2 separate regions of the Homo sapiens genome follow, and region 1 is linked to region 2. The links are contacts of gene promoters, found by promoter capture Hi-C in blood cells and fetal thymus (Javierre and others, 2016). All regions are on one chromosome and are shown on one strand. The core of a region is centred on a gene start or on the middle of the fragment in contact, and the rest is flanking DNA. Distances in the headings are between cores, read along the strand shown. Region 1 overlaps SBNO2 (strawberry notch homolog 2). Region 2 holds the start of PRTN3 (proteinase 3).

Region 1 (3,523 bases), core at 241-2,740, 310 kb after region 2:
AGGCTTACCCAACACCCTCGCCAGGAGCCGATGTCCCCACCCCATGGTTCTCTGGGAAAACCTCACTATGCCTGCCCTTGGGAATGAGAGCGGCTTGAGGCACACGGCAGGCCCCAAAACCTGAGGATGGGGAGCACACGGGGCAGCAGCGGGCCCAAGGGCGGCAGCGGGCCCAGGGTCAGCACCTGCGGCTTCGGGGGCAGGGCTGTGGACACCTCGTGCCCTGCAGAATGGGCACCCCTCAGCAGGGCCCCCACCTGCACAGGGCCAACCTCACCTGCAGCAGAGAGACCCTGCCGTCACAGACGCCCCCACAGTCACGGGGGAGACCCTGCCGTCACGGATGCCCCCACGGTCACGGGGGAGACCCTGCCGTCACGGACGCCCCCACGGTCACGGGGGAGACCCTGCCGTCACGGACGCCCCCGTGGTCATGGGGGAGACACCACCAGCCGGGGGCATCATCCTGCTTATCCCAGCAGGACTGGGGGCCACGCTGGCTTCCAGAACAGGGTTGGGGGTTCGCCTGCTTCCCTGAGTCCCCCAGTGACCTCTCCCAGGCCCACGTGAGCCCTGCTCCTCTATGAGGCCCTGATGCAATTCCCTGGGGCTCGGCCACCTCTGCCCCTCATTCACCTCACACTGGCTGGGAACCAGCCCGGATGGCCGGGGGCCACTTTCTGTACCCGCAGGTGCTGGGTGGGGGATTCCAGGACCCCCGACAGCCTCGAGATAGGCAAAGCCCTCGGGGTGACCGCTGCCCCGCTCCTCCAGCTTTTGCATAAAATAAGTTTATCAGCAAAAGCCCACAGCTCCTCCCCTGCACAGAGGCCGGCAGCCTGGGCACCCTGAGCTCCTGCACCCGTGAGAAGACCCCGTGCAAGTGGCTTGCAGGAAGCCGGGCCACCAGCCACAGGGGCTCCAGAGCCCGGGTCTCCTGATCCTTCCCCTCCTCCTGCCCTTTTGGGAAGAGAGAAAGCCAGCCCTGGAGAGAAACAGGAACTTCCCAAGGCCATGTGGCACATCCGGAACATTCTGGAACAGAACTCTGACTCCAGACCAACCCAGCCTCCTCAGATGAGCTGGAGTCCGTCTCAGGCACACACGGCGCCTTGGGCCAGGCTGGGCAGGGCCACGGCCAGGGAACTGCAGCTGCAGGAAGGGGGCGGGGGGCTTGGGGTCGCAGGGCGGGAGGATCCAGGGGTCCCTGGCTCACCCAACATGCTCCACCTGTACCCAGGCCAGGCTAGGGGATGGGACGGGGGGAAAGTCCTGACTGCCTCTATCCCCCTAGTCTCCTCCCTCCCACAGCCCATGGCTCCTCTGAGACCTGCCATCCACACACACCCGAGTCCCACCCCACAGGGGTGCCATGGGCATGGCAGGCCAATCAGAGTCTTCCCTGGGACCTTCTCTGGCAGCCAGAGGGTGTGGCTTCACCTTTAGATGGCAGGTCCTAGCACATAATTGGTCCAGAGATGGGCACCTGACCCTGCCCAGACAATCAGAGCCTGCCTGGTGATTTTCTTTCCTTTCCTTATTTTGAGACGGAGTCTCACTCTGTCACCCAGGCTGAAGTGCAGTGGCACGATCGTGGCTCACTGCAACCTCCACCTCCCGAGTTCAAGCGATTCTCCTGTCTCAGCCTCATGCGTAGCTGGGATTACAGGCGCCCGCCACCACGCCCAGCTAACTTTTGTATTTTTAGTAGAGATGGGATTTCATCATGTTGGCCAGGCCGGTCTCGAACTCCTGACCCCAAGCAATGTGCCCACCTCGGCCTCCCAGAGTGCTGGGATTTCAGGCGTGAACCATTGTGCTGGCCGGTGTATTTTTATTTCTAATTGAATACTCTGGGCACTGGAAGAGGCTGGGCTGTGCGTGTGCGAACTCAGTCGACCCTGCCCAGAGGTGTCCATGACGTACCCGAATGTGACGGAACCCGGAACAGGGAGGGTGGGATGAGCCTCACACACGGGATGGGGAGCAAAGCCGGTTACGCGCACGGGTGCGCCCCGGCCTGAGCCCTGTGGCTGGTGTCCAGTGCCCCCGCCGGGTTCCAGCCCTGTCGCATTCCCCGACTGTCACTGCTAACACCTTCCTGCTCCCGCTCGGATCCTTGAAGATGGCTCCTCTGTCTCCACATCCCATAATTCGCTTAATTATTTCCCCACCGTAGAGCCTCTGGGGAGATTCCAGTTTCCTGCCACTATAAATAGTGCCGCTCTGTCTTCCCCTCCCTCCTGGATTAGTCCCCAGGGTGTGTTTCCGAGATAGAATTCTTGGATCGGAACAAGCTCCTGGCGGGTTTCGGGGGATGGAGCTGTTCCGGTGGGGATGTGGCTTGGCCAGTCCCCTTTATGGTGGCCCAGGAGGCTGACCGACGGCCGGTACTCGAGCTCCACCGGGGCAGCTGTGAGGATCCAGCCTCAACCCCAAGGGACTCAGGAACTAGGGAGGGGGACAGGAGGGGTCTGGGCCGCAACAGGGACCCTGCTACGAGAGGGGTACCCTGGCCCCAGCTCAGAGCCCCCTCTGGACGGTCAGAACATGGCAGGAAGCTGCCCAAAGCCCTCTGAGGATGGACTGCCGAGGGGTGTCTGTGATGTTCGCCCCACAGGCCAACCTGGGTGTTGGGCTAGGGAGTACCCAGGAGACCCTGGAGTCCTGGAGCAGGTCCTGCTGCTTGATAGGAGAGGGCAGCCCCTCTGTCTCCAGGTAAATCCCCAGGCAGGGCCGGGCGCGGTGGCTCACGCCTGTAATCCCAGCACTTTGGGAGGTCAAGGCAGGCGGGTCAACTGAGCCCGGGAGTTTGAGACCAGCGTGTCCAACGGGGCAAAACCTCATCTCTACGAGAAAATTTTAAAAATCTGCCGGGCATGGTGGCGCGTACCTGTGGTCCCAGCTACTCAGGAGGCTGAGGCAGGAGAATCACTAGCCCAGGAGGCAGAGGCTGCAGTGAGCCGAGATCGCACCACTGCACTTCCAGCCTGGGCAACAGAGTGAAACCGTGTTTTAAAAATAACAAAACAAAATAAAATAAAATGAAATAAAATAAAAATAAATATATATATACACGTTTATATATTTTTAATTTAAAAATTTTTTTTTTTCTTTTTGAGCCACAGTTTCGCTCTGTCACCCAGGCTGGAGTGCAGTGGTGCAATCTCTGCTCACTGCAGCCTCTGCCTCCCAGGTTCAAGCGATTCTCCTGCCTCAGCCTCCCAAGTAGCTGGGATTACAGACACCTGCCACCACGCCAGGCTAATTTTTTGTATTTTTAGTAGAGACAGGGTTTCACCATGTTGGCCAGGCTGGTCTCAAACTCCTGACCTCAAGTGATCTGCCCGCCTTGGCCTCTGAAAGTGCTAGGATTACAGGCGTGAGCCACCGTGCCAGGCCTATTTTTCATTTTTTTGAGATGGAGTCTCACTCTTGTCGCCCAGGCTAGAGTTCAGTGGCGCCGTCTCCACTCACTGCAGCCTCTGCCTCCTAGATTTAAGCAATTCTCCTGCCTCAGCCT
Region 2 (3,507 bases), core at 155-2,654:
ACTGCAGACATGGGGGCTGGATTTGTCTCTGCGGCGGGGCCATCCTGGGCACTGCAGGGCCCTGCCAGGAGCTCCCTCCAAGTCGTGACAACCACGGATGTCTCCAGGCCTCACACAGGGACCCCTGGGGGCAGAATCACCCCAGGGTTAGAGGATTCCACAGACCCCAAGAGACTCTGAGTCCCATGATCCTCTGCCCTGCTGAGGTCCCAGGAGGCTGCACACATTGAAATCCACACCCTGAGTGGGAGGGAGAGAGGAGGCGAGTCCCGGGAGCTGGGGTCCCCCGGGTTTATGCCGTACGCCCCATCGGGAGTTTATTCTGGTGTCCGGTGTGAGCAGGGGGCAGACTGGATTTTTTATTTTTTATTTTTATTTATTTATGTTTTGAGATGGAGTCTTGCTCTGTTGCCCAGGCTGGAGTGCAGTGGCACGATCTTGGCTCCCTGCAACCTTCGCCTCCCAGGCTCAAGTGATTCTCCTGCCTCAGCCTCCTGAGTAGCTGGGACTACAGGCGCCCGCCAACACGCGCAGCTAATTTTTGTATTTTTAGTAGAGATGGGGTTTCACTATGTTGGCCAGGCTGGTCTTGAACTCCTGACCTCAGGCGATCCACCCGCCTCGGCCTCCCAAAGTGCTGGGATTACAGGTGTGAGGCACCGCACCTGGCCATTTTTTTCCCCAAATAATGAACACTGGTCTCTCCCCTGGGCCCTGTGGACATCGGGGCTGGATCCTTCTCTGGGGCAGGCCCGTCCTGGGCACTGCAGGGTGCTAGGCATCATCCTTGGCCTCCACCCACTCCATGCCAGGAGCTCCCCTTTCGTGACAGCCACAGGTGTCCTCAGACCTCGCCCAGGGTCCCCTGGGGGCAGAATCACCTCTTGATTGAGAATCCTGGCCTTAAAGGGGGAAGAAAACCCCCAGACAAAACTGGCAGGAGGATGTTCGCTGGGGCCTCAGGTGAGGCACTGAGGGCACTCGTGGTGGGGCCCTGCCTTCCCGAGCTCTGCATCCTGTCCCCTGCTACGTCCTGCTGTCTGTCCGTTTCCAGCTCACCCACCCACGGGACACACCTGCCACGGCCGGCTTTGCTGGGGCCACAGGGACCTCGTCAGGGAGGCGTCTCCTTGTGGGTGGCACGTGGGCATGTGTTGCTCTGAGGGCTGTGGCCATGTTGCCCACCTGGCCAGGGACCCCCGACTTGGGTGGGTGACAGCCAGCCTCCCCGCCCCCACAAAGGTTGGGACCTTGAGCCCAAAGCCCCCACCTCCTCCCCGGAGTCCGTTCTGACTCCCAGGCTCCCAAGGCAAAAGGAGGAAGTGGGGACCCAGCCTGGGCATTGGGCAACTCAACGGCCTCTGGCATTGGGCTATAAGAGGAGCTTGACCGTGGGTGCACCCTGGACCCCACCATGGCTCACCGGCCCCCCAGCCCTGCCCTGGCGTCCGTGCTGCTGGCCTTGCTGCTGAGCGGTGAGTGAGCCACGTGCCCATCCATCCAGCCTCCAGGCCCCGGTGGATTGTGGGGAAATATCCACCACGAGGTCCATCCAAAGCCCTTCTGGCACAGCTGGGGAAACTGAGGCAGGGTCAGGGGAGACTCCACTCACTGCTCGGGACCAACGCTTGCAGGGGTGGGGAGGACAAGGGCAAGGGGGAGCCCTGGCCATTTGACTCAGTTGCCTATCTGTAAAACGGGCAAAACCCAGCCCTTCCCTCCTGAGGAGCTGTTTTGGGAATTAGCTAGTAACAGGCGAATTCCTGGACAGCACCCAGCCTTCAGCAAATGCTCAGTGAATATGCATGAATGAATGAATGAGTGAATGAATGAGTGAGTGAGTGAATGAGTGAACAAATGAATGAGTGAATGAATCAATGAGTGAGTGAATGAATGAGTGAATGAGTGAATGAGTGAACGAATGAATGAGTGAATGAATCAATGAGTGAGTGAATGAATGAGTGAATGAGTGAATGAATGAGTGAATGAGTGAATGAGTGAACGAATGAATGAGTGAATGAATGAATGAGTGAGTGAGTGAAAGGGTCGAGGAGTTAGTGATGCTGGAATCAGGGGAAGAAGAGAGCATGGGCCCCCTCAGGTCCCTATCCTGAGGGTGATTTTCTTTTTCTTTTTCTTTTTTTTTTTTTTGAGACGGAGTCTCGCCCTGTCGCCCAGGCTGGAGTGCAGTGGCGCGATCTCGGCTCACTGCAAGCTCAGCCTCCCGGGTTCACGCCTTTCTCCTGCCTCAGCCTCCCGAGTAGCTGGGACTACAGGCGCCCACCACCATGCCTGGATAATTTTTTGTAATTTTTGTAGAGACGGGGTTTCAAGGTGTTAGCCAGGATGGTCTCGATCTCCTGACTTCGTGATCCGCCTGCCTCAGCCTCCCAAAGTGCTGGGATTACAGGCGTGAGCCACCGCGCCTGGCCCTTTTTTTTTCTTTTTTGAAACGGAATCTTGCTCTGTCGCCCAGGCTGGAGTGCAGTGGTGCAATCTCAGTTTACTGCAGCCTCAGCCTCCTGGGGTCAAATGATTCTCCTGCCTCCGCCTCTTGAGTAGCTGGGATTACAAGCACACACCACCACACCTGGCTAGTTTTTGTATTTTTAGTAGAGATGGGGTTTCACCACGTTGGTCAGGCTGGTCTCGAACTCCTGACCTGAGGGGGATTTTCAATGCCTCAGTTTGTTCATCTGCAAAATGGGTCTCTTTGTTGGCTGATTTTTTTTTTTTTTTTTGCTTCTTTTTTTTTATTTTGTTTTGTTTTGTTTTTTTGAGATGGGGTCTCACTCAGGCATGAGCCACTGCGCCCAGGATTTTTTTTTTTTTTTTTTTTTTTTGAGACAGAATCTCACTCTGTTGCCCAGGCTGGAGTGCAGTGGTGTGATCTCGGCTCACTGCAACCTGTGCCTCCTGGGTTCAAGCGATTCTCCTGCCTCAGCCTCCCAGGCAGCTGAGATTACAGGTGCGAACCACCACACCTGGCTAATTTTTTTTTTTTTTTTTTTTGAGACGGAGTGTCATTCTGTTGCCAGGCTGGAGTGCAGTGGGGCGATCTTGGCTCACCACAACCTCCGCTTCCTGGGTTCAAGCGATTCTCCTGCGTCAACCTCCGGAGTAGCTGGGACTACAGGCACGTGCCACCACGCCCAGCTAATGTTTGTATTTTTAGTAGAGACAGGGTTTCACCATGTTGGCCAGGATGGTCTCCATCTCTTGACCTCAGGTGATCCACCCACCTCGGCCTCCCAAAGTATTGGGATTACAGGCGTGGGCCAACCGCACCCGACCAATTTTTCTGCTTCTTTAAAAACATTTTTTTAAATTTTGTTTTAGAGACAGGGTCTTGCTCTGTTGCCCAGGCTGGAGTGCAGTGGTGTGATCTCAGTTCACTGCAGCCTTGACCTCCTGGGCTCAAGCGATCCTCCCTCCTCAGCCTCCCAAGTAGCTGGGACGACAGGTGCACACCACCATGCCTGGCTAATTTTAAAATTTTTTGTAGAG

The links. The method cuts DNA at HindIII sites, captures the fragments that hold promoters and counts their contacts. A CHiCAGO score of 5 or more calls a contact.
Region 1: a contact is called between a fragment that was not itself captured here and the fragment with the promoter of PRTN3 in region 2, in 1 of 17 cell types (monocytes). The highest score is 6.0, in monocytes.

Annotation. Positions count from the first base shown.
Region 1 is chr19:1,150,137-1,153,659 of GRCh38, forward strand. The region is part of intron 2 of SBNO2 (strawberry notch homolog 2); the gene reads right to left. Among named protein-coding and RNA genes, the nearest start is that of SBNO2, 22 kb to the right of the region's middle. The HindIII fragment of the contact is 7,004 bases long and covers 1-3,523 here.
Region 2 is chr19:839,595-843,101 of GRCh38, forward strand. PRTN3 (proteinase 3) reads left to right here and starts at 1,405. Exons shown (of 5, transcript NM_002777.4): 1 at 1,405-1,475. The coding sequence starts at 1,415. The HindIII fragment of the contact is 23,301 bases long and covers 1-3,507 here.